Linked DNA regions of Homo sapiens: region 1 is linked to region 2. The links are contacts of gene promoters, found by promoter capture Hi-C in human tissues and cell types (Jung and others, 2019). All regions are on one chromosome and are shown on one strand. The core of a region is centred on a gene start or on the middle of the fragment in contact, and the rest is flanking DNA. Distances in the headings are between cores, read along the strand shown.

Region 1 (3,151 bases), core at 439-2,938, 880 kb after region 2:
ACTTCTCAAAGAGGAATTTGGCTTATCAGCCTCGCCAAGTGAAACTGGGGAGGGGCCCGGGGCCAGCACAACCTGCCCCTGCTCCCTTCCAGGGGTCCATAGAGCTCCTGAAGGAACGAGGAGGCTGGGAGCCCTCAGGCAGTGCTGGAGGGAGGAACGGAGATGGGCCCCAGGGGGCTAGAGCTGTACAGGGCAGCCCCAGACACCCACTGGCCTCTCACCACTTTCTGTAAGCTAAAGCTCCTTTCACAAAAATAGGCTCAGGGGCCAGCCAGGGACCCTCCCCAGGCCAGCTTAGACTCACCAAGTGGGAGGGCAGAGCTCGGCGGACTCGGGGGCCTGGCAGACGCCACGGCAACACGACCTCATACTGCTCCATGAGGGCCCAGGGCCGGCTGGGGGCAATCGCTGCAGGAGGGAGGGTCAGCAGGCATGAGGGGCCGGGGGGCAGGTTTCCTTCCCAGAGGCCTCCTGGGCCCTCAGATTCTGTCTCTTGCTGGGCTTGACCCTCCCCTGGGGAACTCACCAGATAGCTCTGGGACAAAGACTCAAGTGAGGGTTCTGTGCCTAAAAGACCCCAGGAGCGCCCCCAGGCATGGCCGGTGGGCCTGTGTCCTGCAGCACCCACACACAGTGCTCAGAGACGCTGTGGGTGCCAGCGGGTGCCAGTGACTCCACAGGTCTCCAGGCTGTCTCAGATCTCTGGAGGGGCCCGAGGGCAAGGATGAACCTTCCCCCCAGGGAGGAGGACTCGGGCCGCCGACCTGCCCGTTTCCATTCTCCTCCTCCATTCTTCTGATCATCTGATCGCATCTAACTGGGGAGCAGGAAGTGCCTCCCGGAGGCTGTTCACCTCCCAAGAACTGGAAACTCCCTGGTATCCGAGAGCAGAGGGCAGGGTCCCAGCATGCAATGGGCAGGGTTTCGGAGACCACCAACCCCAGGACCCTTTGCTCCCATTAAAACACAATAGTGGACGTGTCTCCATGACCACATCTCCAACCTGGAGAGGCAGCAGGGGAGCAGCCAGCCCCTATCTGCCCAGGAAACTGGCGGGAAGCAACCCGGCCTCCAGCCTGAAGCTCCTCAGCACACCCCAGCCCAAGTCACTCCAGGAGCAGGGGTGGGATCCAGGGTCAGCAGCCCCATGTCCTCCCCCAGGCAGGAGACGGGTCCCCTCAGCCCACACCCCTGCACTCCAGGCCTCAGCTTGTCTGCCCTCCCTTCCCTCCTCGGCTAAATAGTGGGGGTGGGTAGCCCCACAGGTGAATCCCAGGAACCCAGGGCGCCTCGCGCAGCAGGTGAAGCGTCCTGCTTGGCCCGGCCCCGACCCCACTAACAAGCTCAGAGGCGGGACTTCCCTCTCACAGTTCACCTTTGAAGGTTCCCTCCGACCTCCCCGGCCTCCCCGGCCCGGGGCTCTCCACCCAGAGACCACTGTGCACCTGATGGCCCGCTCCCAGGGACCAGCCCGAAGCCGGGCCAGGGTGCGGGGTGCGAGCAGGCCAGGGGCTCGGGGTCCGCGTCGCGTCCTGCGGGGAGAGCCACCCTGCCCCGCGCTGCGCCCGGGACGGTTCCCTGGAACCACTCACCAGGCAGCATCATCGCGCCCAGCAGCCAGAGCCCGAGGCCGCGCATGGCCGGGTCGGGGAGCAGAGGCGGAGGTGACAGCCCCGCGGGACACGGTCTGGTTCCTGCGCTCCTGGCCCGAGGCTCTTTTCCGCGCGCCCCGCCCCGGCGCCCCGCAGCCAATGGGCCCCTCGGCCGGTGGGAGGGGCGGGGCGCGCGGCACCTGGGGGCGGGGTCCGTTTCCCCTCTCCCCACAATCCAGCATCCTCCCTTGCACAGGTGAGGAAACTCAGGCACAGCCTGTCCCAAGTCCGGCCAGAGCCCCGAGAGGGGGCCTCTCGAAGGACCCGGCGGCTGGAAGGAGGTGGCGCCAGGCAGGTCCTGGAGGGGAAGGGACTTGTGAGGGCCGCCTGGCGGTTTCAGGAGAGGGGGTCTCTGATTTCCTGGGGAACAGAAAGCCTCAGGCAGGGGCAAGTCATGGCTTTGTGGGCATAGGTTCAGCCCTGTGGGAAGCTCTGCCACCCTCCCCCCCAAGCCTGCGCCCCCTCCACCAGGCTGAGGCCTCACCGGAGTGGGATAGGCATGGGCCCGCAGGCGTCCAAGTGGGGAGGGGGAGCCCTAGGTGGGGGTCCCAGCCCAGGTGATGGCAGGTGCAGGGGCCGTCCCTAGCCTAAGATCCCCAGACAGCAGCTGACGCTGGCCGACGTGGACCAAAGCCTGCAGCAGCCCACCGTGGCCTGGCTCCGGCGTCTCCAGGCCTGCGGCCAAGCGTGCTTGCCCTTGGTGACCACATTCCCCGTGGTGGGCTCAGCCTCGAGGGTGCAGGTTTGGGCTGACACCACAGCTCCCCAGACGGTCCACCCAGGACCCCTCCCTGGGGCTTTCACAGCCAGGCCGCCCTCCTGGAGTGGGAACAGTGGTGGTGGCAGGAAAGGCAGCTCAGATGACCACACAGGGCGCTGCTGACAGATCACATGGGGGGGGGGGGCCTCAGGGCCTCCCTGGGGAGAGGCAGGGCAGGGCCAGCAAGGGGCTGGAGGGAGTCCTGCCTGGAGAGAGGGCACCAGGGCAGGGCGAGTCAGGGAACTGCACGGGCCTAGGGGCAGAGGACAGAGGTCAAGGGGCAGTGGCAAGAAGAGGCCGGGGCCTCGGACGTTATCCTGGGAGGACAGGGAACCCGGAGGATCTAAGCTGGCGTGAGTGATGCTGTCACATTTTGTCTCAAAGCCATTCTTACCCTAATGTGAATGGCATGAAAAGCAAGAAAGCAAGGGCTGGCACTGGGCCGCAGGTGACTTCTGCTGCCTGGGGGTGTGTCCGCTTGCCTGTGTGGCACAGGACGAGGTCCCCCAGGCTGCCGAGAGGCTCCCAGGTAGGGCTGGGGATACTGGCCTGTGCCTGAGCTCATGCAGGTGACCCTGTTATTATAGAACAATGGCCAGCTGGCAATCACACTTCCCTTCCTTGACCTCATGGTGCAAGTTACTCAACAGCAAAGTGCAAAGGCGGCACGCTGGCCACATCAGAGGCACAGCAAGGCCCCTGCCGACGCTGAGCTACCAGGGATTTATTCCTAAAAAGA
Region 2 (3,309 bases), core at 810-3,309:
CTGCCCGCCGCCACCCAGCCTTGGTTCCTCTCAAAGCCCAGCAAGTCCACAGGTGGGTCCCTCAGCACACCCCAAACTGTTCCTCCTGCTGGCGTGGGAAGTCACCAGGAGCCCCAGGCGCACGCAGACACCTTGCAGAGGATCCTGCCCACCCCCACCCCCACCTCGGAAGCCCTTGCTTTTGCCCACCTGGTGGGGCCCTGGTGAATGCTGGTGCTCCCCTGGACACTCTTTCTGGATCCCTCCACCCACATACAGCCCCCTGTGCATTAGCCCCACCCCATGCTGGCCCCACCAGCCTGAATGCTGATTCACCCTGGCAGTCCCCAATGCTCAGAAAGGGCAGTGCCCAGCAGGCCTCTCCAGCAGGCAGGAAGAAGAGCCAAGCAAGTGGGCAGCCTCAGGATGGCCGCTCAGCCCAACCTGGAGCAGGGTGGCGAGGGGGTCCCTGCTGCCTGGCATTTTTCCTCCAAAGTCAGCCCCACCCCTGGAGGGGGCAGCTGCAGAGGCCTGTGGGCAGGACAGCAGGCAGGCTCCACTGCAAGCCTGGCAACCAGTGGGCAGGGGCTGGCTGACCCTGGAGAACGGGGCGCCTTGAGGTGCCTGAGGCCCCAGGAAGGGCTTAGTGTTGGCGGGAGCCCCAGGCCACACAGAGGAGGACAGACACTCACTGGGCTTCCAGGCCTCCTCTGGGACTGTCCCCGGCCAGAACTCTGGCTCATTCGGCCTCGGTCCCTACCCCTGTTCTAGCCGGACGGTCAGGTGTCCCAGGCCCCGCGGGCTCCCTCACTCCGCCCTGGCTCCTCTCTGAGGCTCCCACTGCCGCGCGGCCGCCGGAGGGCGAGGTCGACAGGCGCCAGCGACCCGACGGTCCCCAGTGGCACCAGGGGCGGTGGTCCTCAATTCCCAGGCTGGGAGGAGCCCTGCCCGGCGGCGCTGGGTCGCCAGGACAACTACGCGGTCCCCCGCCCCGCCTCCAGGCCTCGTCAGGCGCTGCAAGTCCGGCTCAGAAGCCCGGCCCGGGGCCAAGGTCACCGCAGCAGGCCGGGCCCCTGCGTTCTGAGCCGGGTGCGGACGTGCTGGTGCTCGGGGAAGTCGGGGGCTTTGACGCCTGAAGGCGCGGGAGCCGGGCGCCTGGGGGAAGGGGGTCCGGCGCCGTCACCTCCCACTCCTCGCCCGCGGGTCGGGGAGCCCCTGCCGCGGGGGAAGGAGGCTGTTTCCTTTGTAAACTGGCGGAGGCGCGCCTGGCCCCTGGGCCCGGCAACCCGAAGAGACACGCCCGAGACCTCCGGAGGGAGTTAACCCCCCGGGCCCCGGTGCCGGCCACCCCCAGGCGCGCAGGGTGGCCCTGAGCCGGGCGCGCGCCCGCTTGTCGCCCCGAGAGGCGCCGAGCCCAGTGGGGCGACCCAGTGTCCCGCCCCCCACGCGGCGAGGGCGACACTAGGCCGCTGCCCCCGGGCGCCCCGCGTCCCCTCCGCCTGCCCCGGCTTCCTGCGCGCGCCGCCCGGGACTTCCTCGCCGCAGTGCCCGGGGCCACCAGAGCCCAGCGCGGGGCGCTGCCGGGACACGCGGGCGGCCGACCCCAGGCGGGAGGATCCGGGCCACCGGGGAGGGAGGGAGGGCGCAGGGCTGGGCCCGGAGGGGGAGGGGGGCCCGGGACCGGCCCCAGGCAGGGGAGCGGGGGGATGGGGTCCCGGGGCTCCGGCCGCGGCGGGTGTCCCCCCCGCCGCCCCCGGGCTCGTGGCTCTCGGGTCCTCCCGAGCCAGGGGACACTCCCGGCCAGCGTGGGCCGCGAGCCCGGGCGCAGCCCCCTCTCCAGCCCGGGGGTCCGCACCGCGCGTCCGGCCGACCTCTGCGGGCGGGCGCGGCTTCTCCCGGGACGCGGCGGCGGCGGGCGGGGTCCCCGGGAGCGGAGCCCGCGGCCGCGCGCCCCCGGCCCGGCTCGGCTCGGCTGTGGCGGCCGCCCCAGCGGAGCTTTGTGACGTCAGGCGGCCGCGGGGCGGCGTCACGCGCGGGGCTGACCCGGCGGCGGCGGCGGCGGCGGCGGCGGCGGCGGGGCGGGGGCGGCCTGGGACGCGGCGGGAGCATGGAGCCGCGCGCCGGCTGCCGGCTGCCGGTGCGGGTGGAGCAGGTCGTCAACGGCGCGCTGGTGGTCACGGTGAGCTGCGGCGAGCGGAGCTTCGCGGGGATCCTGCTGGACTGCACGAAAAAGTGAGCGGGGGCGCGGGCCGGGACACCCCCGGGGTCCCCACGCGACACCCGCCTCCGCCGCCCGGAGACCCGGGACCCGCCTCCGGGTTGGGGGTGGCGTGGCCCCGGCGCCCGCTTTCGGTTTCTGCCGAGCCTGAGTTTCGGGGCGCGCGAGCGCGGCCGCCACTCGGGGGGGCAAAAGTGGTTCTCAAAGTCGTCGCGACTTTTCGGGGCGGGCGCCGGGCCGGGGCGGGCCGGGGCGGGGGGCGCGGGGCCGGGGTCCCGGAACTCCACACATCTGCCATAATTAATGCACTTTTCTTTGTTCAGAGCCACTGTTGAATTCGACTGTTGGCAGAATTGTCGTTAAAGCAGGGGAGGGTCAGATGCGCCGTGGCCTTGCCCTGGCAGTTCCTCACAGGTGGGGGTGCCCTGTCGAAGGCCACGGGCCCCTGGCTGCTGGGAGTGACTCCGCGGCTGAGGTTTGGATTCGGGGAGAGCAGTTGCGCCCAGCTGTGCGATTTAAGAACAGTTTCAGGCCAGGGAGCCCTGAGTCATGGGGGCGTGAAGAGGTACAAGCTGTGGGAGCCGTGGGCACATCCCCCGGGAGCCCTGGCTTCCTGGGTGGGGGGCGCAGGGCAGGGCGGGGCGGTTCCTCCTGAGAGGCACCTGTGCACGGGCTGCAGGGACCCATGCGGTGCAGATGAGCCTCCTGGACACCGCGTCACATGGCAGGGAGCTGTCGCTGCCAGATCAATGATTAGGCATGAATCAGGCTGTGGCCTCGCTGCGCTCCTGCAGGGCTTTCTTTTGAAACTGGGAGCAGGGAAAGGCTCCTCTTGTAAAGGCCCAACTTTTTCCATCCGTGGAGCCCAGATTTTTGCCTGGTGACATGAATTAGCAGAGAGGACCGTGTTCCTTCCACAATTATTTCGCAGACGTTATCTCTTCATTAGATGTGCCAGAAGCCATTTATCCACAAGTCACGTGATTTAACATATGGCTCCCGTGTGGTTCCTGCCCGCTCCGTGTGGGCTACCGCTGGGAGTGCACGGGCAGGATGGAGGGACACTCGGGGGGTGAGAATCGCCACCTGGGAGCTGCCATCCCCTCCACCAT

The links. Contacts are between HindIII fragments. The study calls those that stand out against the background at their distance.
Region 1: a contact is called between the fragment with the promoter of ADAM8 here and the fragment with the promoter of PWWP2B in region 2, in 1 of the 25 tissues and cell types used here (spleen).

The regions. Positions count from the first base shown.
Region 1 is chr10:133,275,180-133,278,330 of GRCh38, forward strand. It overlaps ADAM8 (ADAM metallopeptidase domain 8), which reads right to left and starts at 1,689. Exons shown (of 23, transcript NM_001109.5): 1 at 1,593-1,689; 2 at 305-408. The coding sequence starts at 1,638. RefSeq lists enhancers at 1-128, 1,132-1,779, 3,094-3,143 and a silencer at 1,379-1,938. The HindIII fragment of the contact is 31,119 bases long and covers 1-3,151 here.
Region 2 is chr10:132,395,141-132,398,449 of GRCh38, forward strand. It overlaps PWWP2B (PWWP domain containing 2B), which reads left to right and starts at 2,060. Exons shown (of 3, transcript NM_138499.4): 1 at 2,060-2,211. The coding sequence starts at 2,087. LOC124902526 (a long non-coding RNA gene) reads right to left here and starts at 1,416. Exons shown (of 2, transcript XR_007062342.1): 1 at 1-1,416. RefSeq lists enhancers at 1-501, 502-1,024, 2,595-3,117, 3,118-3,309 and silencers at 833-1,212, 1,233-1,662, 2,073-2,182, 2,193-2,332. The HindIII fragment of the contact is 21,746 bases long and covers 1-3,309 here.